Regions from separate parts of the Homo sapiens genome. Here region 1 is linked to region 2. Evidence: promoter capture Hi-C in human tissues and cell types (Jung and others, 2019). All regions are on one chromosome and are shown on one strand. The core of a region is centred on a gene start or on the middle of the fragment in contact, and the rest is flanking DNA. Distances in the headings are between cores, read along the strand shown. Region 1 overlaps NAPG (NSF attachment protein gamma). Region 2 holds the start of RAB31 (RAB31, member RAS oncogene family).

The links. Contacts are between HindIII fragments. The study calls those that stand out against the background at their distance.
Region 1: a contact is called between a fragment that was not itself captured here and the fragment with the promoter of RAB31 in region 2, in 1 of the 25 tissues and cell types used here (heart left ventricle).

The regions. Positions count from the first base shown.
Region 1 is chr18:10,532,497-10,538,467 of GRCh38, forward strand. It overlaps NAPG (NSF attachment protein gamma), which reads left to right. Exons shown (of 12, transcript NM_003826.3): 3 at 215-299; 4 at 1,040-1,057; 5 at 1,970-2,000. Among named protein-coding and RNA genes, the nearest start is that of NAPG, 9.5 kb to the left of the region's middle. The HindIII fragment of the contact is 3,043 bases long and covers 1,732-4,774 here.
Region 2 is chr18:9,705,034-9,711,070 of GRCh38, forward strand. RAB31 (RAB31, member RAS oncogene family) reads left to right here and starts at 3,268. Exons shown (of 7, transcript NM_006868.4): 1 at 3,268-3,411. The coding sequence starts at 3,373. It overlaps LOC124904244 (a long non-coding RNA gene), which reads right to left and starts at 2,939. Exons shown (of 2, transcript XR_007066281.1): 1 at 1-2,939. It overlaps LOC105371981 (a long non-coding RNA gene), which reads left to right and starts at 3,639. Exons shown (of 2, transcript XR_935131.2): 1 at 3,639-4,960. RefSeq lists silencers at 2,963-3,532, 3,633-3,862. The HindIII fragment of the contact is 12,091 bases long and covers 1-6,037 here.

The DNA of each region.
Region 1 (5,971 bases), core at 2,003-4,502, 830 kb after region 2:
AAGAAAAAGTTTTAAAAATACTCGTAAGTTACCAATAATTGGAAAAGTTGTAAGGAAATTGCTTTAGAAAAAAGTAATATTTTATAGTTTTAGGATACTTCCTAAGTATTTGAAGTAAGTATGTTTATAATACTTCATATAAAATGCAGATTTCAGTAATGATTCATTTGAGGTTTTTAATGATGGAAATAGTCAATTTTTTTTTCTATTTCAGCTGTTGCTTTTAAAAATGCCAAACAGTTTGAGCAAGCAAAAGATGCCTGCCTGAGGGAAGCTGTTGCCCATGAAAATAATAGGGCGTATCTTTTTCAACTTTTAAAAAGAAATTAAACAATTAGATGATTTTGACAAGCTGTTTTCTCTTGCTGTAAATTTACTTTACTACCTGTGAAGTAAAATGTTTTTAAATTAGAAAATGATTAGAAAAATTCTGTATTTTTAAACTATGAAGGAGCGTTTATAATGAAGTTTGATTATAAGGTCCACACTGGTTCGCAGAGCTACAATACTTACTTTCTATTGTTTGTGATTTTACTTGATGATGGTTTTACTTGGGATGAAGTAAAGTAAATCTGTAGACATGTGCTGAAGAATGAAGAAGTAGCACAGGTATTGAAAACACGTGAACTACTGTATCAATTTTTTTAAATACAGTTTTCCTTAGGTATTTGAAATAAAAATTATAAGTAGTTTAAAACAGTACATTTTCTTGAGGTGTTTGCAAACTTATCAATAAAAAATGTTTCTCTTATTTGCAAACTGTAGTCATAATAACTTTGTACTTCAGTAAAACTTCAGATTATTGCGTAATAGAAATAGTTTAAAATCTGTGCAGTGTTTTGTTAGTGGTTTTGGGAATTATGTAGTTTTAAACTATATTGACAGGTATTGAATTACTTCTTTTTTACCTGTTTGTAGGATTTGTCTTTTGGAACCAACTGGGTCAGTGATTTAGTTAACTGTCTTTAAATAGTTGATCTATAGAAACTATTGATTTTTTTCTTTTTTCCTTAACTTTGACTTCGTTACTTCCATTCAGTCTTTTTCATGCTGCCAAGTAAGTATTCTTCATGTTTTCATGTATTTGCAAATTATGTTTTAAATGTTGCTGTTTTTCTGTAGGTTGGTAATTTTTTCCCAAATTATAAATTTTGTATTGATTTAAATAATAATCATTTCTCTTTGCTTCAGTTTTTACCTAAACCTTAAAAACCAAGACTTACTCCTAACTGTAAGATGTAAAGAGTTTAAATTAAATTTGCCATAATATTTTATTAGGAGCATTTTGTTCAGTAGCCTATGGGAAAAAAATAAGTTAGGATCTCTTTTTTCCTCTGTTTGATAGTTAATGGTGCCTGTGGAGATGAAGCAGGAAGCTTTCTCTTGCCTTGTGGAGAGTAGTTATTTGTTGGCCGAGGCAGGCGGATCACTTGAGGTCAGGAGTTCAAGACCAGCCTGGCCAACTTGGTGAAAAACCTCGTCTCTACTAAAAATACAAAAATTAACTGGATGTGGTGGCACGTGCCTGTAATCTCAGCTGTTGGGGAGGCTGAGGCAGGAGACTTGCTTGAACCTGGGAGATGGAGGTTGCAGTGAGCTGAGATCGTGCCTCTGCTCTCCAGCCTGGGCGACACAGCAAGGCTCCATCCCAAAAACAAACAAACAAACAAAAAAACTTAGGTTTAGGTTTGTCAGATGGAAATTAATTTAACCTTACTGAGCCTTACTTAATTTTGCATCTGCAAAATAAAATCTCTTTAACTCAAATGTCTGATGTTCTAAGCCATTATTCCCCACAAAAAAAGAATAAAAAATTATATTGTGTGGTAATATAAGCCTGAAGTGATATGTTGTGCATGAGCCCATTGTAATTGAAGTCACTTTCCTTACCAGTAGTTCCTCACCAGAAAGTTTCTTCTACCCCTTATTTCGTTAAGATCTCATCAGAGAAATTATATTCTCTTTGCAGAGCTTATGAGCAAGCTGGAATGATGTTGAAGGTCAGTAATGTTATGTCACAATTGTTGTGTAGGTAAAATGAATTAACTACAAGGTGTTAAACAAGAATTTTTGTTGAAGTTGAAAAGCTTCCTTACTGTAAGGCAAGAGGTGCTAAGTTAAGATTTTCTGTCCACGGTAACGTTAATTGGACCCATAGAATACATTCTGTACGTCTTAAGGAATGTTAAAAGTGAAATTTAAGAGAAAATGTATTGGAGTGAACTGGGAACACTAATGTTCTAAGCTCTATAACCAGGATAGATGTGTATTGCTATAAAAAGAGCTCTATGGGAAGTTTCTCTACTTTTGAGAAGGACATCTAAATGTAGTAAAATTTTATAAATATTAAAAAATTATCATACATGGGTTATAGAAGAGATTTTTACTTATGTGAATAACAGTTGGCAGCAGAAACAACCACAGATTTAAGCTTTTGCTACTTTAATTCATTCTGCATGGAATATTCCAACTAATGTACCTGTGCCACTGTTTGTACTTCTGCTCCTCAAAAGCAGGCCAGGAATTAATGTCCTGCTGTGGTGAGACAGAACATACTACTTTATGATGCTGACTTTCAAAGTATGCCAGCTGGCAGTTGAAATGAAGTATTTGTCTTTCTTTTTTAAAAATGTTTTTTTCTAAAATGGTAAAAGCTACTTTCAAGTATTTATTATAAAGCTTTGTTTTTAAGAACTTTTACCTTAGTAAAGCTTTTGTTTTTAATTTCTATGACTTTTATAATGTGAACTTACTCATTTTTTTAGTGAACACATGCTCATTGTAGACAATAAAAAATACCGAAAAGTTAAAGAATGTTAGTAATAGCTGTTAACATACTTAGTTTAAAAGATTTTATAGTCTTTGACCCAGGAATTTCAATTCTGTGAGTCTATCATCGAGAGAGAGAGATCAAAGATTTATGCATCAGGTTGTTTCTTGAAGAAATGCCAATTATCTAAATTTTGAATAATAGGAAAGTGAGGTTGGATGTAGTGGCTCATGCCTGTAATCCCAGCACTTTGGGAGGCCAACGTGGGTGGATTACCTGAGATCAGGAGTTCGAGACCAGCCTGGCCAACATGGTGAAACCCTGTCTCTTCTAAAAATACAAAAATTAGCTGGGCATGGTGGCGGGCGCCTGTAATCCCAGCTACTTGGGAGGCTGAGGCAGGAGAATTGCTTGAACCCAGGAGGCAGAGTTTGCAGTGAGCCGAGATCGTGCCATTGCACTCCAGCCTGGGCAACAGAGCGAGACTCTGTCTCAAAGTAATAATAATAATAGGAAAGTGTTTAAATAAATTATGATGCTTCCTTATTATAAACTATTATATATCCATTGAAATAAAGCTTTTCTGGCCAAACATGCAACTGAATTGGTATTTGGTGCCGCAAGTTAGGTTATTAACCACAGTTCCTTTGAAACCATAGAGTTTCTCTTACGGCCAAAGAAGCTGGGGATCTGCTCTGGTCTTCTTATGTCTCATTTTCCTCTGAGAATTAGGAAGCTCCCAGGTGGCTGTTACATTCTTAGTGTACTTCATGCCTGTTTAAGAAATGCTCAAACACTCTAATTCTCACAGCCTCAGTTTATATTACAACAGCTGTACTAAGACTTGAATCTTCATCAAAAGTTATTATTCAGGCATCATTTCCATTGCTCAAGTATCTATTTAATTTGAGGGTTGGAAAGGCACTACTTTGAATGAAAGAAAATTAACTTAGTGGATAGGGAAACAGATGAAGGAAAATGCTTTCTGGCATTGTCTTATATTTAAATTAAATGCCTTTGGACACTGTTGGGAGCACAGGACCCCTGAGCTACGTGGTCCACAATTCTGTGGGCTAAAATTTCTACCAATTTGTCATACAAACCTTCACACTGATTCACCAGAAAGGCTTGGGGAGTGCCATTTTGTAGACATATGCACAAGGGAAGCCACAGAAACTTGTTGGATCAACCTTTGGTTCTGTCACTTGATGACTGCTGTGATTTCATATCCTGTTTGCTCCACTGGCACACAGCCATTGAAAATAGGCATATTTATGGTGGAGGGTATAACTTTCAAGTAGGCAGCTCATCATTTTTTATGGAGAAGTATCAATATTGTGGTTGGACCTCTTACTCACAGCCTCACTTGATTTTACGCAAAAACAGGAAGATGTAGTTGCTAATTTTTAAACAACAAATAGGACTCGGATGCCATTTTTACTGCCTTCTAATGTATTTTTTGCTCTATCTACTGGGTAAAACTCATGACGAATAGTTCCTGTGGTTTTTTTATCCTCCCAAATGCTTTTATGTTGTAGATTCACATTATATATGTAATTAGTGGGTAGGTATATTTGGGGAGGAAATACAGTTGACCCTTGAACTACCCAAGGGTTGGGATGCCAACCCCTTGTGCAGTTGAAACTCTACATATAACTTTTTACTCCCCAAAAACTTTACTAATAGCCTGTTTTTGTTTTTTTTTTTTGAGACAGGATCTTGCTCTGTTGCCCAGGCTGGATTGCAGTGGCACAATCATGGCTTACTGCAGCCTCAACCTCCTGGGCTCAGGCGATCCTCCCACCTCAGCCTCCTGAGTAGCTGGGACTATAGGTGCATGTCACCATGCCCTGCTAATTTTTTAATTTTTTTGGTAGAGACTGGTTCTCGCTGTTTTTCCCAGGCTGGGCTCAAACTCCTGGGCTCAAGTGATACTTCTGCCTCAACCTCCCAAAGTGCTGGGATTATAGGCGTGAGCCACTACCCTACTACTGACTGGAAGTCTTATAAATAATATAAACAGTCAGTTAGTACATATGTTGTATGTTGTATGGAATATGTTTTATACTGTATTCTTAGAATAAAGCTAGAGAAAAGAAAATATTAAGAAAATCGTAAGGAAGAGAAAATATATTTAGTGTTCTTTAAGTGGAAGTAGAGCATCATAGGGCTCTTCATCCTCATCATAGTCTTCACGTTTGGGCTGAGGAGGAGGAAGAGGAGGAGGAGGAAGAAGAGGGGTTGGTTTTGCTGTCTCAGGTGGCAGAGGAGCAAGACAGTCTGCGTATAATTGGACCAGCACAGTTTAAATCTCTGCTGTTCAAGGTTCAGTTGTATTCTTTAAAAGCCAAAATGACCCTCAGGACTAATGTGTCTGAGAGAGATTTTGTTAGGTTTACCTCCCCTGTTCATTCAGATATTTTTCAGCAGATATTGTAGACTCGGATTCTTTCATTGACTTTTGGTTTTATAACAAAAAAAGTATTGTTTTTATTTTTTCACTGAGGTTTGGAAATGCATTAGCATTTCATTCTGCTTGAGTGAATGATAGCAGTCTTATTTCATACAGTGTCTTTCAGTCTGTGTTATTGTTAGTTTCCATAGCTAAATAATAAAGTTATGTTTTGGGGTTGGCGAAAATGAGACCAGTTTTGTTAAGGGTATCCTAATGAATTTGTCAACTTAGCAAGGGACTGAATAGGCAGATTTGTAAACCACCCATGAGATGTCAGTGTGGAGCCTACCTTAAGATACAGCAAGTCAACACTAAATAAGTTGCTTATGTAAACTTTATAACTAGCTTTTAAACGGTGTTTTTTTTTAAGTTTATTTTTAAAATGTTTGATTTGGAGATATTAGACATTAGGACTGCATGATCCTGAGATGTGTAGATTAATAGTAAGATACAGAATTTATTAGTCATGGAAGAGGGTTGCAAACTCAGATGAACTCAGGGTGTAGAGGAATAACTAAAATGAATGAGCAGCTGGGACGTGGAGGGCATTTGGAAGTGAAGAGCGGGGAGAAGCGCCAGGAGGTGCATGCTCATGTGGCGGGACAGTGCTGCCCAGCCCCAGCCTGTTGCCATACAGGGATGCAAGCCTGCTGATGCCGTAGCTTTTGATATTTTTTTGAAGAAAGCCATAAAACAATTTTCATGAAAGTATCTAATTTAAAAATACTGCATGGATCAAGCAAAAC
Region 2 (6,037 bases), core at 2,018-4,517:
TTCAGTTTCCAGCCTCCCCCCTCCAGCTATTGTCTCCTTTTTCAAGTCTGTGGGTGAATTGTGGGGTCCACTCACCTCTGTTTTTCTAAATCCCTCAAATCCCTTTCCTACCCTGGTATGTCCAGGATTCATCTCCTCAAAATTTGTTTAAAGGGCGTGGGTTACAAATAAGGTTAGGTAGCACATGCTATTTAGAAAGTTTCAGAAAGAGAAGGAAAGAAGGAAGGAAAGAAGGAAGGAAGGAGTTGTTACATAAATGAGAAATACTAAAAGGCTGTTTAACTGATATTGCAGACACTATAGTTCCATAAAAAAGATAAATTATGAAAAACAAGGTTTGTAAACATTTTTATCTTTCCTTAATTGGCCCTTGAGCAGACCAGATGACTCAGTACTGGTCTCCAGGGATCAGCCTGCACTCCAGGGCGTTGTGACACATTTATATTGCTTATCCTATTTAACATTTTGAGTCATATTATTTTCACAGAACCTTATTTACTATAAACGTCTCTATAAATCTACATAGTATACACATTTCATTTAATATCTAAGTAACATATACTATTGTACACCATCAAATATACCCAGTAACGACACCCTAGCTTGCTTAATCATTCCTCAAGTGTTAAGAGGTTTGAGTTACAATTAACGCAACAATCCTCCCTTTACCTCCATGGATGTAATTTTTTTGTTGTTGTTTCTCTAACCCATTTATTTGTTTTTTTTGTCTGCATATGTGTTTATATTCAAACAGGCAGCTTTGTTTACTTTTCGTCTTTGTATGTTATTGTTCAAAAAAGGATTTCCTGAATCAAAAAACATGATCAGTTTTATGACCATTACTGGCTTTTTCTGTTGGAGACTTTATAGCAGCAGAGAAGTTGAGGTCTGAATTAGCACAATGACCATTTACGTTACAAAATTCTTATAAGAAAAACTTGCATGTTCTATTTCTTAATTTGATAAATTGTCAGTTATGTACCATTGAATTTTTACCCCTGCTGAAGTTACACCAGAACTACATATTTGCAGAAAATTCCAGAGAAGTCAGGATGGGCCCTTAGTACAGTAATCATAGAGTGTAACAATAGAGAACATGGCACTTTTTTAAAAAGTCGAGAGCTGCCTCTGACGTGTCACTCTTAAAATATGTCTCCCAGCAGTCATCTTCCTGCCTTCCAGGGCTAGAGCTTTGTAGGTTACCTTAGGGTGATCATGGGGACCTGGTTTTCATGAGGCCATGTTTAAGCTCAGGGGTGACCTGGCTGGGAAGAGGGTATAAACCCATGAACACGAGTCAGTTGACAGACTAGGATTGCCACTTTGTAAAGAAGAGCCCAAGACCTGATCAGAATGAGACACAAATGAGGTCATTTTTAACAGAACTAGGGGAGGGGAGAAGGACAAATAGACTGGGGCGATTCTCAGGGAGGGAAGGGCTGGATACGAGACTCTTTTGGGAGAGCCTAGAAACGACGCAAGCGTCCCAGACACCCGGGCTAGTGGAGAAGAGAGCAGAATGAGAGCAGTCATGAAAAAGAGTAAGGGAACACAAGAGAAATTCGGTTTGCCTATTTCTGTCTGGGCACAGTTCTGCCCTTAGCAATCTAAGGCAACTTCACAAAGCTCCACTCACTGCACGGGATGTAGAACACAGTGGAGGCTTCCACCCTGGTTTGACTGGCTTTTGGGAATCAAGCTGGAAAGCCAAAAGGACATGTTTCACTGTGGAGGTGCCCTCAGGGCTGGCGAAGGCCTTGGGGGAGGTGTCTTTGCAACTGTGTAGGGGTGGTTTTCTGATTAGCAAATCTGAGGGCAGGGAGATATTGTGATCAGGACTGTTTGATTCTGGGGAAGCCTCTTTTTACCCTGCCCACATAGAAGACTCTGCTTTGGATACAGAGTCAAGGACGGATACTGATACAATGGACCTGTAACTTGTCCATGGCTGCCTTTTGTACAGTTTAGTCCATTTGAGTAATCTCTACAAGCCTGCACCTCGAGGGCAAACTTCCTGCTCTTCTGGGGAATTTAATTGTGAATTGTCTGTTTCGGGGCCCATTTTGACTCCTGTATTCCAGGACTTATCTCTTTGGAGGCCTTGATTTGGAATTTCCCATTGGATGGGGCTACTTGGGTACTGGGTAGCTTCAACCTGGCTTCCGTAAGAACAAAGCCAGATGATCACGGTGGGTGGTCTGCTAGGAGAATGGAAATGCCATTGATTAAAATTGGAAGGTTAAGAGAGAGGCCTGAGAGTTTGGGATAGGAGATGAAGTTTCAAAAAATCAGTTTTTAAAAAAACATTTCCCATCTGAAATGCCAGTGAATTGTTCAGATAGATTACATTGAAAAGGCTGACATTTCTGTAGCAGCAACGAATGAAGTCATCCGAGTGGATGAGGTGCTCTAGGCCATACATGGAGAAGAGAACACAGTTACCCAAGCCTCCCCGACTGTGTGCGGCCACAGACTCTGCTCATTTCCCAGTTAGGAACGATGCAGGGGTCTGCTGGGATCTCCACGTTTCTACCTGTACCTCTGAGGACTGGGTTTCTGCCCACACGAGTTGCAGGATTTGCTCTACTGAGAAAAAGACTTTTGCTCCAGAAAGCAAGTTTCCCGTTTCAGACACGGACAGCGAGTTTTGCTTCTAGAATCATTTTCAGCTGCATACAGAAAAATGAACTTGGCTGAGCTGAAGAGCCACACATATGTTAAACGGAAGCTCGGGTATTAGGAACGTCGAGAAAGGCAGGCCGAAAAGTTAGCCCCCTTCTCCTCACCCCTGTCCTCACAGCGGCCCCTTCAGTGGCCTGACTTTTTCTGCGTGGGACCCAGAATGTCGCTTGAGGATGGGACCCCCGCAGACCTCCACGCGCTGCCACGCAAACGGCCTCGGCCGAGAGCATTCGCTTTCCAGATGAGAATGGCATCTTCAGGGACCCGCTGGTAGTGGGGCCAGGTCTCCACAGGGCCGGTCCAGTCCTTCCTACCCACCCGGGCCCTGCGGCCAGGCGGGGCCGGGAGGGGCGGATGCCGGAGGGCGCTGGGGGAGGCCGACCCGCGCGGGGCTGGTCCGAGGGCGGAGGCAATCCGCCGGCGACGCCGCAGGTCCCGGGTGGCTGACGCCGTCCGGGGGCGTTCCTGGGAGCTGGGGGCCGGCGAGGCTGGACCCGACGCGCCCGGGAGGAGCCGGCCGGCGGCCACGTGACCCACCGCGGCGGGGCCGGCGGCCCAGAAATAGCAGCGGCGGCGGTTCCGCCCGCGGGCGGCGCGAGCGAGGGGCAGAGGCGAGAGACGCCGGCGGGGCGCGGGCGCGGCGGCCCCGGAGGATGCTGCTGAGCCCCGGCACTGCCTGGCTGCGAGCACATGATGGCGATACGGGAGCTCAAAGTGTGCCTTCTCGGGGTGAGTCCTGGCCGCCACCCGCCGGCGGACCCCGGCCCGCGCTCTCGCGCCCCTTCGCTCCCCTATTCCCTGCGCGCTCAGTCCCCGTGATCCCCTCGCTCTCCGCACCCCTCTCGTAGCCCCCGTCCCCCTCGTCCGCGCGCCCCCTGGTTCCCCGGGTCCCCCTGGCTCCCCTAGTCCGTGCGCCCCTCGCTCTCCGCGCCCCTCGCTCTCCGCACCCCGCCTGTTCTCCGCCTCCCCGCCGTCCGTGCGCCCCTCTGGTCCGCCCCCGCTCTCACCCTGCCGGGGTCCGGGTCCGAGCCTGCCCCGGGCTTACTCCGCTCTTTCCTCCCGGCCCGCGAGTCCCCGGATCCGCGGCGACCTCGCGGGGACCCCCAGCGGGGACGGGGCAGTGGCGGCGAGTCTGGGGCCCCGAGGGCTTTCTCCTCCGCTTTTGATAGTTTCCTTCCGGCAGAAAGTTTAAGTTGCTCAGCCAAGTCGCTGAGTGCTCTTTTGCCTCCTGGGGGCAATTGATTTACTCACGTAAAACAGAAAAATAAAACCAAAAGCGAACCCAGCCAAGGGGGTGAAAGCCGAGGGCGCGGCCGGGGTGGAAGGTGAGGCAGTGACCTGTGCGGAGCGCGCCCTGCAAACTTCCCTGCTGCGGGTGAAAGAAGCTGCCTGGGAAAGTCCTCCCCACCATCACTCCCCTAAAGTGGGGTTTTCTCCGCCCGAAGAAGCCTTAAAGCAGCCAGAAACAAAAAAGCAGTCAATCCGTGCGGCCCGGGGACTGCAGACAGGGGACCCGGCGAGGACGCAGGGAGCCGCTGGCGAACCGCCCCTGGGAATTCAGATAAACGTAGGGTCGCTTCCTTTCGGGGGCCCACTCCGCATTCCAGAATTCCTTCTTCTAAAAGAAGAGCCGGTTCTAAGGGCGTTTTCAGCAGCCATTAGCATCTGGTGTACCCGCCCGTGTCATTGGCAAAGCTGGTCTCATGAAAACCATTTCCTAAAAAAGGGCAGCGAAAGGGTCGCATTCTTGTGCGAACTGATCTGTCAAGATGGGGGTACAAGAACTGTAGAAAGAGGAAATGATTTCGGTGAGGACTGAATTGTGCCAGCGTCTCTAGGCTTCCTCTAGGCTCTTGTGGAACCTCCGGCAGGCTCCCATCATCGGCTCCCATCACCGGCCTCTTCCAAAACCATCCCTTACGCTAACTCGATTGTCCGGTTGGCTTAGAATTCCAGAGGATCTGGGAAGGCCCTGCCCTCCCTGCTAGCCCCTGGCACAGATCCGCACAGATCCCCACCTCCCCCGACTTGCTCAGCCACAGCCAGGATCTAGTCTGGTCTTTCTCTGTTGACCTTTTTGTGTGGCAGGAGTGGGTTTTCCTGTTCCCCAGGCCCTCTAATATTTCCAGACATAAATTCCAGGAATCCCATGCTTCCCTCTTGAGGGGCCATTTCAGCCTCAGGAAAGGCCTTCAGAGACTTAGAAGGAATGTCGTGTTCCAAGGAATGAAGAGGCAGCCTTGATGTGCCGTGTTTGTCAGGACTGGCCTTGGGAAAGGTGAAATAGGACATATTTTTGCCTTTTTTTCTGCAACTCTTTTCTCTTGACTTTTACTGAGGTGGTCCAAGCCCTGCCGTGTCACAGGACCCCTTATTTTCAGTTTCGGTGTTTAGGGACAGGTCTCTATGTCCTCCTACCAGGACACTGATCAGGTGGCAAGAACCCTGTGTCAAGAGGCAGGAAACCTAGGCTCTCGTTCTTTCCCACCAAAGAGCTGTGTCGTTTTAGCAAAGCAACTCAGTGGCCTCATCTATGAAATGGGCATAATAACATGTTCCCCCTTTAGGCAGAGGACTACACCAGATGATCTCTTAAGATACATGTTACCATTTCCTGCTAATCTATGAGTTCAGGGTGCCAATTAGCAAACCTGGGAGAGGAGGAAGCTGGAGGAAATCTCTTTACTTCTTTTATCTCCAAGAAAGATACACACTCTTTGAGTGGCTTCCTGCAGACAGTGCCTTACCTTTGCCAGTTCTGTGTGTAGGAATTTGAACTTGGAGTTGGAAGAACCATGCCAAAGCAGAGAAAGAAGAGGTTTCTGGGCAGACGGAGGCTTTGAAACATCAATCGTGGCCGGTCGCGTTGGCTCACACCTGTCATCCCAGCACTTTGGGAGGCTGAGGCGGGGGGATCATTTGAGGTCAGGAGTTCAAGACCAGCCTGGCCAACATGGTCAAACCCCGTCTCTATTAAAAATACAAAAAAAAGTTAGCTGGGCGGTAGCGGCGCATGCTTGTAATCCCAGCTACTCGGGAGGCTGAGGCAGGAGAATCGCTTGAGCCTGGGAGGTGGAGGTTGCAGTGAGCCGAAATCACGCCACTGCACTCCAGTCCGGGCGACAGAGTGAGACTCTATCTCAAAGAAAAGAAAACAAAAGAAAAGAAACATCAGTCATATCACACCACATTTGTGGCTTCCTTTTTTTTTTTTTGAGGGTGGCTGTAAGTTTCAGTTTTATTGAAATCAGAGGACATTTTATTTGAAAGACCAAATGACCTTGTTGTCCACACTGAGTAAGATTTGCCACATCCCCTCGTTTGGCTGGCTCTTTCCTGGGTGAGATGTGTGCAG